3 separate regions of the Homo sapiens genome follow, and regions 2 and 3 are each linked to region 1. The links are contacts of gene promoters, found by promoter capture Hi-C in blood cells and fetal thymus (Javierre and others, 2016). All regions are on one chromosome and are shown on one strand. The core of a region is centred on a gene start or on the middle of the fragment in contact, and the rest is flanking DNA. Distances in the headings are between cores, read along the strand shown.

Evidence for each region. Contacts are between HindIII fragments. The CHiCAGO score rates a contact against its expected background, and 5 or more counts as called.
Region 2: a fragment that was not itself captured here is called in contact with the fragment with the promoter of ACTL10 in region 1 in 1 of 17 cell types (endothelial precursors); the score reaches 7.2 in endothelial precursors.
Region 3: a fragment that was not itself captured here is called in contact with the fragment with the promoter of ACTL10 in region 1 in 3 of 17 cell types (megakaryocytes, endothelial precursors and naive B cells); the score reaches 5.6 in megakaryocytes.

The regions. Positions count from the first base shown.
Region 1 is chr20:33,664,256-33,669,395 of GRCh38, forward strand. It overlaps ACTL10 (actin like 10), which reads left to right and starts at 2,688. Exons shown (of 1, transcript NM_001024675.2): 1 at 2,688-4,270. The coding sequence starts at 3,243. The coding sequence ends at 3,980. It overlaps NECAB3 (N-terminal EF-hand calcium binding protein 3), which reads right to left. Exons shown (of 12, transcript NM_031232.4): 5 at 5,120-5,140. RefSeq lists enhancers at 1-530, 2,381-2,600, 3,411-3,490 and a silencer at 2,731-3,060. The HindIII fragment of the contact is 8,805 bases long and covers 1,958-5,140 here.
Region 2 is chr20:34,070,028-34,075,167 of GRCh38, forward strand. It overlaps RALY (RALY heterogeneous nuclear ribonucleoprotein), which reads left to right. Exons shown (of 10, transcript NM_016732.3): 3 at 2,039-2,303; 4 at 3,536-3,608; 5 at 3,792-3,839. The coding sequence starts at 2,048. Among named protein-coding and RNA genes, the nearest start is that of MIR4755, 23 kb to the left of the region's middle. The HindIII fragment of the contact is 2,177 bases long and covers 2,058-4,234 here.
Region 3 is chr20:33,377,032-33,382,171 of GRCh38, forward strand. CDK5RAP1 (CDK5RAP1 mitochondrial tRNA methylthiotransferase) reads right to left here. Exons shown (of 14, transcript NM_016408.4): 8 at 2,430-2,660. Among named protein-coding and RNA genes, the nearest start is that of CDK5RAP1, 22 kb to the right of the region's middle. The HindIII fragment of the contact is 203 bases long and covers 2,830-3,032 here.

The sequences.
Region 1 (5,140 bases), core at 1,438-3,937:
ATCCAGAAATCCCTCTTAGGCATGAGGGAGGGTTCCCGGCCAACAGGCACCATCCTGGGTAAGAACAGCCAGGATGGCAGTCAGCTGGGGCAAGGCCTGAGACGTGGATTCTGCCTGGGGACGCACCCAGGAGAAGCTGGAAGCCCTGGGCCTCTCTCTGGCCCCTCACTCCTACACATTGTGCTTGGTAACCCCAAAGCATTCAGGCCCCCCAGTCTTCCCCAAGGCACCTGTCTCCCAACCTACCCTGTCCCATCTCCTTCCCCACGTGACAAAGACTAATTCCAAACCACTTACCTGTCTAGGGCAGCTCACTCCCCTGCTCATAAGCTTTCAACAGGTCTCCATTACCAACAGGGAAAAAGCCCACAGCTTCAGTCTCACTCCCCAAATCACTTAGAAGAAGCCCTGCCACACTTTCTGTGGGCGGGATCCTGCTGCTGCTTCTCCTCACTCTCCCGGGTCCCAAATCCAGCTCCACACCCAATGCCACCCCTGGCCTGCCAAACCTGCAGCCCGCCTTCCTGCCACACTCTGGTGACCAACCTCAGGATGCCCTCTTTTGGGGGCAGATGCAGCAGGACTGAAGTCCCAGCTCACTACAGCCATCAGCCCAGCTTCTGCTGAAGATGCACTTTTGTCACCGCCACCAGGATGAACATCTCCTCCACCTTGCCTGCACCAGGCTGGAGGCTGCAAGAGCTATAACATCACTCCTGCTAATTGTGAGAACTGACTCTTCCCTACCATCCACATGGTTACAATCAGGGTAACCATGTTCTTCCATGGGGCTGCACCTCCTGCCCATACAGTGATTGGCCCAAGCTGGTCCTGTCAGCCCCTCCCCCTAGGACTGTGATTCAGGAGCTGTAAGAGACCATGTTCTCTACTTGAACATGCACAGGCTAAGCCAGCCTTCAGAATAAAAACACAATGCAGGCCAAGCGCAGTGGATCACGCCTGTAAACCCAGCACTTTGGGAGGCTGAGGCAGGCAGATCACGAGGTCAGGAGATCGAGACCATCCTGGCTAACACGGTGAAACCCCGTCTCTACTAAAAATACAAAAAACTAGCCAGGCATCATGGCGGGCGCCTGTAGTCCCAGCTACTCGGGAGACTAAGGCAGGGGAATTGAACCCAGGAGGCAGAGGTTGCAGTGAGCTGAGATCACACCACTGCACTCCAGCCTGGGCAAGAGAGCGAGACTCCATCTCAAAAAACAAACAACACAATGCAGTGCACATCCTGGGTTCCCCACAGCCCCGCAGTCAGATTCTGTTCCTGAAACCTGATTTCACCCTTGCTCTTGATATCCATAACATGTAAGATCCTTTCAATAAAGTCCTTATTTTGGGTTACATTCACCTGAGTCTTCTACCTGCAACCAAACTGGTCCTCAGGAGGATGAGGCTTTGCAGAGACAAGAAGTGACCTCTTTCCTGTGTGGGGGGATTATTACTACCTTTTGGAGGAGAAAACCGAACCCAGAGAAAGATCAAGACTTGCTTAGGACTGCACAGTGAGTCAGCTTCAGAACTGAGTCTTGCTGGGTGCGGTGGCTCACACCTGTAATCCTAGCACTTTGGGAGTCCAAGGCAGGTGGATCACCTGAGGTCAGGAGTTCGAGACCAGCCTGGCCAACGTGGCGAAACCCTGTCTCCACTAAAAATACAAAAATTAGCCGCGTATGGTGGTGCATGCCTGTAGTCCCAGCTACTCAGGAGGCTGAGGCAGGAGAATCACTTGAACTCGGAAGGCAGAGGTTGCACTGAGCTGAGATTGCAACGCTGCACGCCCAGCCTGGGTGACCGAGACTCCGTCTCAAAAATAATAATAATAAAAAAAAGAACTGAGTCTCAAACTGAGGCCCACGTGAATCCATCCGTGGAAGCCCATAAAGGTAGGGCCAGAGCCTCTCGGGGGCTCTTCAGGGAAGCTGCAGATCTGTGATGAAAAAGCTTTTTCTTCAGCACTGGGAGGGGTAGGGGGCCACACATCTGGACAGAGTACATCAGATAATTCTAAGTGGTTTGGGAAAGGAATCAGACTGTGCTGGGCTGCTGAAGCCAGACCCCTGGATGCCAAAATCACTGCCCTTGGCTCTGTCCAGAAGAGAGGATGGGTCCAGGGAGTTGTCATAAGGTAGGGAGCTGCGAAGTGCAGCTGCTGGGGAGTGAGGTCACAATGAGCCCAATCCAAGTTCTTTTCTGCCTTCTGACCAGCCCCTCCCCTCTCCACAACCAGGAACTTCCGTCAAGCCCAGGTGAGAGGTGCCAGGAGGCTGCCTGGGTCCTCAAGGGGGATATATGTCCAAATGGCCTTACCACAAGGCCCCTTCGCCCTCAAAGTTCTGCTCCTCCCGGGGGCTTCTTAGGATCTAAAAGGATCAGTCCTAGCCATCTCGTCAGCCATCTCAGCAAGGGCTGACGGGGCGGAACAGCAAAGCAGAGGCGGGTCCTGAGAGCGTGGAGCCTGAAGCCCGGCGCCAGAGGGAGACCAAGAGGGTGAGATGCGGCTGGAACCCAGCCAGAGCGGAGACTGAAGCCTGAACTAGGGGCCGGGCCTCAGGCCTAGGAACTAGCCACGAGCTGAAAAGGAGGCGGATGGCCCGGACAGAAGAGGCGGGGCTTTCAGACCAGAGGGCGGAGCCAAGAGCTGAAAAGGGTGGTGATTTGGTCCAGAAGAGGAAGAACTTAGGCTCCGGAGGCAGAGCCAAAGGCTGAAGGGGACTACTCCCTAGGACAGAGGCCGGGAGGTATCGGGCCGACGAAGCCGAGTGGCGCGGAGGAGCGGAGCCTTCAGCCCCGCGGCTGGGCCGAGCCCGAAGGTGGCGTCGGTGTCGGGGAGCCGCCGCGTGCACCGGCCGTCCTCCCTGGGCCGCATCGCGGTGGTGGTGGACCAGGGCTCGGGCTTCACCAAGGCGGGCTTCGCGGGCGAGAACCAGCCGCGCATAGTGCTGAAGAGCTCTAGCTTGGTGCCCAGCTGGGACCGGCCGGTGCTGCCCGGAGCGCCGGGCTGCGAGCTGGCGGGCGGCGTGGCGCGGGCGCACCCCATCAAGCACGGCGTGGTGGCGGACTGGGAGGCGCTGGAAGGGCTGTGGGAGCGCCTGCTGGTGGGCGGCCTGCGGGTGTGCCCAGAGCAGTGGCCCGTGCTGGTGAGCGACTCGCCGTTGGCGCCGCCCGCGGGCCGCGAAAGGGTGGCGGAGCTGCTGTTCGAGACCCTGGCAGTGCCCGCGTGCCACATGGCTAGCACCGCGTTGCTGGCGCTCTGCTCCACCGGCGCGTTCAGCGGGCTGGCCGTGGAGGCGGGCGCGGGCGTGTGCCACGCCACGCCCATCTACGCGGGTCACTCGTGGCACCAGGCCACCTTCCGACTGAACGTGGCAGGCAGCACCCTGTCGCGCTACCTGCGGGATCTGCTGGTGGCGGCGAACCCTGACCTCTTGCAGCAGGCCCTGCCCCGCAAGGCCATCACACATCTCAAGAAGCGCAGCTGCTACGTGTCCCTGGACTTCGAGGGCGACCTCCGCGACCCCGCCCGCCACCATCCGGCCAGTTTCAGCGTGGGTAACGGGTGCTGCGTCTGCCTCAGCAGTGAGCGCTTCCGCTGCCCCGAACCCATCTTCCAGCCGGGCCTGCTGGGCCAGGCTGAGCAGGGGCTGCCCGCGCTGGCCTTCCGGGCGCTGCAGAAGATGCCCAAAACGCTGCGGACACGCCTGGCAGACACCGTGGTGCTAGCCGGCGGCTCCACACTGTTTCCTGGCTTCGCCGAGCGCCTGGACAAGGAGCTGGAGGCGCAGTGCCGGCGGCACGGCTACGCGGCCCTGCGGCCCCACCTGGTGGCCAAGCATGGGCGTGGCATGGCTGTGTGGACCGGCGGCTCCATGGTGGCCTCCCTGCACTCCTTCCAGCGCCGCTGGATAACTCGGGCCATGTACCAGGAGTGTGGCTCCAGGCTGCTGTACGATGTGTTCAACTGAGTCAGGCTGGACTGGGGGGGGTGGCACTGCGTTGGGGGACAGCTCTCTATCTAAAGAGTCAAGTGTTTGGAGCTGGCAGGGTCCTCCTGGAGGTTGGAGCTGACTGGATGGGTCACCCCCATACCCTTTCTGGGCCAGGAGAAGGTATTTGGGACCCATGGGACCCTCATTTTGAACTGCAGTTTGAATCTCCCCAACCACTGCCAGTTCAGAGAATGCCAGTCCAGCTGCCTACCCACAGGGCCCTACTTTATGGCAATAAAGGTGATGCCCCACTTGTGTCCATGCCACAGATATGGGAGTTCCTCCAAACCCTCGTCATGTACCATTTGGACATACATCCGATGCCAGGCCCCAAGGGGCGATCCCTTGAAAAGCTACTAAATCTCATGTGAAAGTCACCAGGAGGAGGAGCCCTGTGCCTAGCCATGTGCTCAGGTCATTGTTGACTATGAGTGCCTCAGTTTCCCCTTCTGTAAAAAGTGGGGTCAGGCACAATCCCGGGCCTGCTCACTGCTCCCTCCCCCTTACAAGAGCTATGGAGCAAAGGGAGGTGGAGATATTTCTTGAACACACAAAGGGAAGGGCAGCTTATTTTTTGGAAGTCACCACTCAAGGGCCTCAAGCCCTGGCTATCAGCACTGTTCGAGCTTGTGTATACACGTGTCCACACAAACGCGTGGGTGTTCACGTACCTGCCTACTCACGTATGTCCTCGGGCCAGGCCCTGCCCTGTGAACCTGTGAGCACAGCCTTCCACGCCTAGCCCAGCCCTGAATGATATCCCACCACAGTTGTGATGGGCCAGCAACTAAAGCAACAGCAGCCCCTAGTATGAAGCACCCAGTGTATGCCAGACATTATTCTGGGTGCTGGAAACAGAATAAAACAGACAAAAATCCCTGCCTTCGTTCTCACTGGTCACAGTGATGTATGAAGGGCAGCTCTATTGTTATGATGGTTTACAGATGAGGAAACAGGCCCAGAGAGGTCAAGGGGCACAGCTACAAAGTGGGAGCCAGGATTTGAACCCAAGCCCCTAGCTCTATAACCCTGAGTCAAGACTGTGGAGGATCCCACAGCACAGCAGATGCCCACTGCCTCACAGTGGATCCCCCACCATCAGCCACTCCACTCACCAGCTTGGTGGCATCCATGGC
Region 2 (5,140 bases), core at 1,896-4,395, 410 kb after region 1:
CTGGTCAGAACGTGCCAGCTTCCAGGCTGGGAGGATTTAAGAGAAAAAGAGTCTCTTATCCCCTAGTGGGATAAGAGATACAGATGTATCTTTTCCAGTTCACTGAAAAGAAGTCCCCCCAAAATATTAGGTAAATAGGTTGGCAGACTGATGAAAGTTTTTATATATGCTATTTGGAGTCTTTTATCACCTGAAATGGCCTTAAGGTTAGGTTACTGAGATAGGAGGGTTCCAAAAGGGAGTGGCATCAACCTGTACCAATGAGCAGAAGACTGGGCCGGGAACTGCCAAGGCTTAACTTGAGGCTTTTCCTACTGAAATTGAGCTTCTCTCCTTTCCCCTTTCCTCTTGGAGCCTATGCCCAGCCGTAAACTGTACGGGAAAAATTTGTACAGCCCTTTGGGGTAAAAGACCTGGCCAGAATATAGAGAGCAAAGGGTAGGTGCAGTCTCATCTCTAAGCCAAACAGAACAAAATTTGAACGAGTTAGTATTAATATGGGTAACTAAAAAATAAATTTATTAAAAATAATTCTCAGGTGAATGTGCTGACTTTCTGTGGTATCTAAATTGGCTTTAGCTCTGGGAAGCAAAATGATAAAGTTGAAAGAAATAGACTTTAGTGACAGACTGACCTGTGTTCGAATGCTCATTACTAGTAAGTTAATGAACTTGTCAATCAGTTTCTGGTAAAATATGAGTAATCATGACATTAACTTGTGGGATCTTGGGATTATTCAGTATTGTATACCACCCTTAGCCACAGCGAGTGCCTGGTGAGGCTTTGTGTTAGTCCATTCTTGCACTGTTATAAAGAAATACCTGAGACTGGGTAATTTATAATGAAAAGTTTAATTGGTTCACAGTTCTGCAGGCCGTACAGGCTTCTGCTTCTTGGGAGGCCTCAGGAAATTTACAATCATAGTGGAAGGCGACGGGGAAGTAGACACGTCTTCATATGGCCAGGGCAGGAGGAAAAGAGACAGTGGGAGGTGCTACACACGTCTAAACACCAGATCTCACGAGCAGTCACTCACTATCATGAGAGCAGCACCAAGGGGGAAATGCATGATTTCAGTCACCATGATCCAGTCACCTCCCACCAGGCCCCACCTCCAGCACTGGGGATTACAATTAGACATGAGATTTGGGCGGGGACACAAATTCAAACCATTATCGGGCTTAGCTAGCATACCCTTTTCAAAATGGTTGGTAGCAATTCAGACAGGTCTGTGTCTGGATCAGACTAAGCAGTTTTCTTTTCTTTTCTTTTTTTTTTTTAGACAGAGTCTGGCTCTGTCGCCCAGGCTGGAGTGCAGTGGCTTACTGCAACCTCCACCTCCTGGGTTCAAGCAATTTTCCTGCCTCAGCCTCCCGAGTAGCTGGGATTACAGGTACCCGCCACCACGCCTGGCTAATTTTTTGTATTTTTAGTAGAGACGGGGTTTCGCCATGTTGGCCAGGCTGGTTTCGAACTCCTGACCTTAGGTGATGCACCCGTCTCGGCCTCCAAAGTGCTGGGATTACAGTTGTGAGCCACCATGCCCGGCCCCTGCAATTTTCATCATATGGTGGTGGTCTAGAGTAAACATCACTTGCAAATACCATGTGACCATGGTTCTACATTGAAGATCTTCAAATTTAGATCCTGAATGGGATAACATTTGAGATGAGCATTAAAGGAGTAGACTCAAAAGAATTAGAGTCAAGCAGATCAGGGGGTCAGATCCCAGCCCTGCCATTCACTAACATTGTGGTCTCTCTGAATGTGAGATTTCTCCCTTGTAAAATGTTGTGGTTCTGCATATCATGTGAGTAACAAATGAGGGAATGTATGTAAAGCACCTGGCATGAGGTCAGCAGCCAATATGTGGCAACTCTTGGTAATATGACAAGAAAACAAGATGCAGGAACAGGTAGGCTGGATGCTATAAGGGTTAAGGAAGGTAAGAGGCAATTCATTTATCCAGGATATGGGCCGTGGGCAGTCCTTGAGCCCAGCCCAGGGACCCAGCTTCACCGAGGCTCTTTTTCTTCAGGTGGGCACCATGTCCTTGAAGCTTCAGGCAAGCAATGTAACCAACAAGAATGACCCCAAGTCCATCAACTCTCGAGTCTTCATTGGAAACCTCAACACAGCTCTGGTGAAGAAATCAGATGTGGAGACCATCTTCTCTAAGTATGGCCGTGTGGCCGGCTGTTCTGTGCACAAGGGCTATGCCTTTGTTCAGTACTCCAATGAGCGCCATGCCCGGGCAGCTGTGCTGGGAGAGAATGGGCGGGTGCTGGCCGGGCAGACCCTGGGTAAGCCTCTCTTCACTATATTCTCCTAGTATTCTCTAGAATAGCTGCTATCACTATCCAGTTCTCAACCCCCTTCTCTCTTTCTCTCACCGCTACCACTGCTCTGAGATTTTATAAATTTATAAGCTATGTTTAAGTTTTAAATAGTTATAAAATTAATCCCTATAGGGAAGAATTTTAGAAGCCTCTGGAAAACACTTCTGACCTGTCTCTGCTTTCTCAGAGCTTCTTAGTGACAGGCTTTACAGTTCCAGTTAAAATGCAGATTCTCCAGAGAAAGAGAACAGAGTGGCCTAGAACAGCCTGTTACACCGGGTACAGATGACTTAGGTTAGAACCCTTTCTGAGAGCGAGCAGGAGGGCCTGAGAGCACAAGGACAGTGTGAATACGCTTGGTTTTGGTGTCATGTCCATGTGATATGACTATGCTAGTGGTCTCTCTTGAAGTATGTACAGTGTTCATGCATGTGCATTTACTCCTGTGTATATGTGTATGTTTGAAAAGGGGTATCTGTATGTGTTTTTTCCTGAACAAGAAGTATATGGATTGACTGAACATGTGGAGATATGTGGACACAACCCTTGTATGTATAGATGTAGTGTGTGTGTGTGTGTGTGTGTGTGTGTGTGAGAGAGAGAACATATTTGAATGTGTCAGCAGATATACATATATTCATTTACCAGGTATTTATTGAGACCTTTTCATGTAGTAAGGACTATTCTAGGCATGAAGGTGTTTGGTAGAACATCCATGTGAATGTGCATTGGCTCATTTGCATGTGGGTAGTTGTCTATACTGAGTGTACTTGAGAATACACGTTACCTGTGTGTGAGTTTCTTACCTGGATATGTGAATGTATGTGTGAGTGTGGCTCTGTGTATGCGTTCCCATGTACCTGATGTGTTACGCATTTACATGAGTGTATTTGAGAATGCATATAGGAATATTCGACGTGTGTGTGTGGTGGGGCGGGGGGGAGGACATGTTTATGAGCATGCCTGGATGGATCTGAAAGTGTATGGACATATAAACAGGCATATCCATGTGATACCTGGATATGAATCTAATGTTTGAAGATTAGATGTATGAAGACCTTTGTTGGCACCATCAGTGAGCAGAATCCATGTGTATACCGTGTAAGCACATGAATTGCTGTGCGTGTGCATGAGGTTGATGTGTGTGGGCACACTGTCATGTTAGCATTCCAACTCTGCCTTCTCCCTCCACACAGACATCAACATGGCTGGAGAGCCTAAGCCTGACAGACCCAAGGGGCTAAAGAGAGCAGCATCTGCCATATACAGGTGGGGCTGTCTGACTGTCTGTCTGTCTGGTGGGATGACTCTCTCTTTCCACAGAGGGAGTAAATGCTGGTGTGACAGTGTGCTGAATCTAGAACTTGGGGAGGTGTCTGGAGATGAGGGCCTGTGGAAAGTGGGCTGAGTGGCCGTCCCTAAGCTCCAGCCCTCTCCCCTTTGTTTCCCCAGTGGCTACATCTTTGACTATGATTACTACCGGGACGACTTCTACGACAGGTGAGCAGGGGAGGGGCGTGCCCAGGCATGAAACAGCCAAGCTGGAAGGGTCTTGAGAGATTGTTGGTGCAGCCCACTGAGTTCTCCAAATGAGAACCAAAACCCAGAGGTTTGCCTGGGGTTGCTCCACCAGTCGGTAGCAGAGCTGAGACTGGGGTCCTGTGCTGCAGGTGCTCAGGCCAGAGCTCCTACCACCATACAACACTGTCTGCCATGCTAACTGCCCTTTTTCCTTCTTGTCCTTGGGTGAGGCTCAAGGAGACCGTACAGCCAAGAGCTATGTAAGTGTGGCTAGTTGGAATACACAACAGGGTACAGCGCTGGTTGCAGGGAGTTTGAGCCCTTCCCTCTGTGAGGTGCCCAAGCAGCTGGTAGGAGCCCCAGAGCTCAGTCTAAGCTTCTTGGGTTTATATTTAGAGACAAGAGGCCAGCAGCCATTTGGAAGTCTAATTAGTCCCTGGCGGGCTGTGGTCTACCCTGCACTCCCAAGCCCTACCCAGACTCCAGCCCAGAGGCTGTGGGCTCCCACTACAACAGCACTAGCCACATTCTTGAGTAGAAATCATGGTAGATACTAACTCAAATCTCTCCTCCTCCCTGCTTCTCTCCCTCTGTCCAGCTTAGCCCACCCCAGGCAGCCCAAGAAGAACAGTGCCTCTCTGAGCATGAGTCGTCCGCCCCCATCCCCACCCCGCCCCTGTGAGTCGTTTCAGGAGACAGTGTGGTGTAGTGGAAAGTGTCTTAGCCTGGGGGTCAGAAGATTTAGATGCTAATCTCAGCTCTGCCACTGAATGGATTATGTGATCTTGGGCAAATTCCCTTCCCAGTTTGTGAAATGGGCTTGCACCAAGTGATCTCTCCAGGCTCCTCCAGCTCTGGGATTCTGTGGTTCAGTGATTCTGACCAAGGCCAGAGCCGTTCCCTCCCCTTGGGGGCAGAAATGCAGGGTCTGGGATCGGATCCATTCCCAGAGACTCTCCATCTGCAGCCATCACCACCTCCAGGAAGGGGCTCCCTGAACAAAGGAGCCCCAAGGAATGGGGCTTTTGCCCAGTGATGGCAGGTTTCCTGGCCGTTGTCAGGAAAATTGACCCAAAGTTTACCCCCTGGGCTGCGATTCCCTGAAAAAGGTGGCAGCAACAGATGTCAGAGAGACCACTTCTCAGCCTACTGAGTTTCTGCCTGGTCAGCTGGAAAGGAAGCCCTCCTAGAGAGGGCTTGGAGATGACTTTGGTTGGGGGCAGTGCACAGCCTGGGAGCCCTGGGGGGGTCTGATTGAGCTGCCCAACCTTGATACTCTA
Region 3 (5,140 bases), core at 1,681-4,180, 290 kb before region 1:
TTGGCCCCTAACAAGAGAGTCTGGCTGGGCACAGTAGCTCCCGCCTGTGATCCCAGCACTTTGAGAGGCCTAGGTGGGAGAACTGCTTGAGGTCAGGTGTTCAAGACCAGCCTGGGCAATACGGCAAGACCCCACCTCTAATTTTTTTAAAAGGAAACAAGAGACAGAGTCAGCCTGTCCTTTGAAGCTTTGAAGAATGGCACTGATTTCTCTTCTCTAGCTATGAAAGTCCCAGATGACATCTTCTTCCAACAGAAGACTGTTCATTTACACTGCAAATCTGTTGTTTAGTAGAACCACCTTCAGCATTGATCTTAGCTAGATCTTCTGGATAACTTGCACAGCTTCTACATCAGCACTATGGCTTCCCCTTGCACTTTGATGTTAGAGAGATGGCTTCTTTCCTCAAACCTTGTAAGTCAACCTCTGCTAGCTTCAAACTTTTCTTCTTCAGCTTCCTCACCTCTCTTGGGCTTCAGAGAACTGAAGAGGGGCCTTGCTCTGGATTAGGCTTTGGCTTAAGGAAGTGCTGCGGCTTCTTTGATCTTCTCTCCAGATCACTAAAGCTTTCTCCATATCAGCAAAAAGGCTGGGTTTTGTTGTTAGTGGTTTTTTTGGGTTTTCTTGTTTTTCTTTTTGAGATGGAGTCTCACTCTATTGCCCAGGCTGGAATGCAGTGGCACAATCTCAGCTCACTGCAACCTCTGCCTCCCGGGTTCAAGCAATTCTCCTGCCTCAGCCTCCCAAGCAGCTAGGATTACAGGTCTGCACAACCAAACCCAGCTAATTTTTCTATTTTTAGTAGAGACAGAGTTTTGCCATGTTGGCCAGGCTGATCTAGAACTCCTGACCTCAGGTGATCCACCCACCTTGGCCTCCCAAAATGCTGGGATTAAAGGTGTGAGTCACTGCGCCCAGCCTGTGAGCCATCACACCCGGCCAAAGAGGTTGTGTTGTTTTCTTATCATTCATGTGTTCAGTGGAGTAGTACTTTTAATTTCCTTCATGAACTTTTCCTTTGCATTTACAACTTGGCTGGTTGACATAAGAGGCCTAGCTTTCAGCCTAGCTCGGCTTTCAACATGATTTCCTCAGTAAGCTTAAACATTTCTGGCTTTTGATTTCAAGTGAGAGCCCTGCGACCCTTCCCTTCACTTGAGCACTTTAGAGGCCATTGTAGGGTGATTAAATGGCCCAATTTCAATATTGTTGTGTCTCAGAGAATAGGGAGGCCTGAGGAAAGGGAGAGAGATGGGGGAATGGCCGTCTGTGGAACAGTCAGAACACACACATCATTTACCAATTTAGGTCACTTTCTTATGTGGGTGTGGCTCATGGTGTTCCGAAACAATTTTAAGAATAACATTAAATAGCACTGATCACAGATCACCATAACAGATGTAATAATAATGAAGTTTGAAATATTGTGAAAATTACCAAAATATGACACAGAGACATGAAGTAAGCACATGCTGTTGGAAAAATGGTGCTGACAGACTTATTCAGAGTTGCCACAAACCTTCCATTTGTTAAAAATAACTCCATAATATCTGCAGAGTGCAATAAAACAAGGTATGCCTTTGTATCTATTTCACAACAACCCAAAGCAGGAGGTAATTGTTAACCCCTTATTAACCCCATTTTACAGATAAAGATGAAAAGTTGAAAACATCACATGCTCGCTGGTAAAACAGTGGAAAAGCTGAGATTTGAACCCGGGTCTGAGGCGAAAGTCTGGGCTGTTTCCCAGAGCACCACATCACCTCCTTCCTGTCCACCCCACACCACCATTACCGCCCCACCACCATTATTACCACTCAGCTGCCCACTTTGTAACAAATCCTCTCTGTACAGCCCTCACGGTCCCGCAGGTGGTCTTAACCTCCCGCTGAATATCAGTCCTACCTCCACTCCCACCTTGGCAGACTTTTTTTTCGAGACAGGGTCTCGCTATCTCACCCAGGATGGAGTGCAGTGGTGCGATCTCGGCTCACTGCAGCCTCGACTTCCTGGGCTCATGTGATTCTCCCACCTCAGTCTCCCAAGTAGCTGGAACTACAGTCGTATGCCACCTCAGTCTCCCAAGTAGCCAGAACTACAGTCGTATCCCACCCCACCCAGCTAATTTTTTGTATTTGCAGTAGAGACGGGGTTTCGCCATGTTGCCCAGGCTGGTTTCCAACTCCTGAGCTCAAGTAATCCACCTGCCTCAGCGTCTCCAAGTGTTGAGATTATTGGTGTAAGCCCCGTGCCCAGCCACTGGTGGACTTCAAATCTTCAAAGGACCAGCAGATCTGGAGGGTGATGCAGCAATACCCCACAGGATCCCTAAGCAGGACTCCAGGTCTCTGCTGCATCCCTACTGGGTCCAGCCTTTGGCATGCTCAAGAATACTAATATCAGTTTGTCACAGCTAACCTGACGCTCACCTCATCAGGAAAATCCTTGGGGTGGGGAGAGGTAAAACGGATCCTCATTTCAGGATCTACTCTGGAGACCTGATCCAGAAGATGAGCAAAACGAAGTCCTCCTTGCTTGGTTTTATAGTTGGTGGTAAAGCCACGACTGAGATTGGTAGGCACTGCACTGTTGAACTGGACCTCCGAATTGTCCCGAAAACTATTAACATTCTGACCAAGAAGTGTCACTTCTTTCAGCCCCTAAACATGGGAAAATATATTGGAATTTTAAAACTTTTGGGTAGCTTCATAAAAAAACACTAATTAAAAATTAGCTGAAATTAACATATCTTTTGTTTTAAACAAAAGAAAAATCGAACCTACCAAGAGTCACCTATAAGTGTGTTGTGTCTATAACCGAATAATTTCAAGCTTAGACATCTTACCTAAAGAGCTAAACCTAATAAAGCCTTATATAAAAATTAATCTTCAAAACATTATTTAGAATCAAAACTGGAAACAAACTCAATAATCCACAATAATGGTTAATTTATGATAGATCTGTCATTTGAATGTTATACACCATGACTATATAAAGTATTCTCACCAGAAATATTTAACCTGAACTAATCAAGCTTTTACACCTAACTTCCAGTTACTAGAATTCACAGAGATATATTAAATGACAACATGAGGAAAAAATCAGACAAAGGAGACTCATGTCTGATCTCTTCAAAAAGTTAATGCATCATTTAAAGAAAACAACAACAACAAAAAATAAAAGAGCTGTTTTAGATTTTTTTCTTCTTCTTCTTGAGACAGGGTCTCCCTCTGTTGCCCAGGCTGGAGTGCAGCAGCACGATCATAGCTCACTGTAGCCTCAACCTCCCAGGCTTAAGCAGTCCTCCTGCCTCAGCCTCCCAAGTAGCTGGGACTACCTTTTTTTACTTTTGTAGAGATGGGATTTCACCATGTTGCACAGACTGGTTTTAAACTCCTAAACTCAAGCAATCCTCCCACCTCAGCCTCCCAAAGTGTCTGGCTTAAATAACTATTGATTTTCATACATATGATAATGATATCATGGTTATGAAGAGAAAAATTGTTACTCATAGAAGATACATACTGAAGTATCTAGGGGCAAGTGTCCTGAGGTCTACAAATTACTTCAAATGGTTCAGAAAAAATACATTTATGGGTGCATGGAGATAGGTGTATGACAAAATGTTAACAATCACGTTTTTCTATTATACTAGTCTTTCTATTTGTCTGTTTGAAAATTTATATTATAGGCCAGGTGCAGTGGCTCCCTCCTGAAATCCCAGTACTTTGGGAGGCCAAGGTGGGCGGATCACACGGTCAGGAGTTCAGACCAGCCTGGCTAACATGGTGAAATCCCTTCTCTACTAAAAATACAAAAAATTAGCTGGGCGTGGTGGCAGGCACCTAATCCCAGCTACTAAGGAGGGTGAGGCAGGAGAATCGCTTGAACCCAGGAGGCAGAGGCTGCAGTGAGCCGAGACCATGCCACTGCACTCCAGCCTGGGCAACAGAGCGAGACTCCATCTCAAAAAATAGAAATGTTATATTATAAAGTTTCACAAATAATGGTTGCTAAAAAAGACTTGTTTTGTAACTTTGACATAATTTACAGACAAACTGCAATATTAAAAGAATTCCCATATACTCTTTGCCCAAATTCATCAAATGTTAACACTGCACCCCATTTGTTTATCATTCACATTCAGACACTCATATACACTCTCTCTCAACACACATATGACTACATTTTTTTTAAGCCTTCTGAGAAAAAGTCACAGATATCATACTCTTTTACTTCCAAATATTTTAGTATATATTTCTTAAAAACAAGGGCATTCTCCTATATAATTTCAGGACAATTATCAAAATCAGAAATATTGATACAACACTATTATCTACTTTCCATAAATCAAATGTTACCAATAGTCCAAATAATGTTTTGTTGTTGTTGTTGTTGTTATTGTTGTTTTTTGAGACAGAGTCTCACTCTGTTGCCCAGGCTGGAGTGCACTAGCGTGATCTTGGCTCACTGCAATCTCCGCCTCCCAGGTTCAAGCGATTCTCCTGCCTCAGCCTCCTGAGTAGCTGGGACTACAGGCGTGTGTCACCACGCCAGGCTAACTTTTTGTATTTTTTAGTAGAGACGGGTTTTGCCAAGTTGCCCAGGCTAGTCTCAAACTCCGGAGCTCAGACAATCTGCACACCATGGTCTCCCAAAATGCTAGGATTACAGGTGTGAGCCACCACGCCCAGCCCAAATAATGTTCTTTATAACATTTTTTTCCCTGATCAGAATCCCAATCGAGGACCGTGCGATGCATTTAGTTGTCATAACTCCAGTCTCCATAAAGGCTATTTATTTGTGTAAGTTGTGACATACTGTTAATCTAAAAAGCAGGATATACTAAATGCAATGTGGATCCTAGATTGGATCCTGGAAACGAAGTAAGACATTAGTGGAGAAACTGGCAAAATCCAAATAAAGTCTGAAGAGAGTTAATAGTAACATACCAATATTAATCTCTTAGTTTTTGCTTTGTTTGTTTTGTAATAGAGACAGCAGCTCCCAGTGTTGCCCAGGCTGGTCTTGAACTCCTACGCTCAAGGCACCCTCCTGCCTTGGCCTCCCAAAGTGCTGGGATTACAGCACCAAAAAATGTACCAAAGAAAGATGGCAATGCTCGAGGAAACTCTCTTTG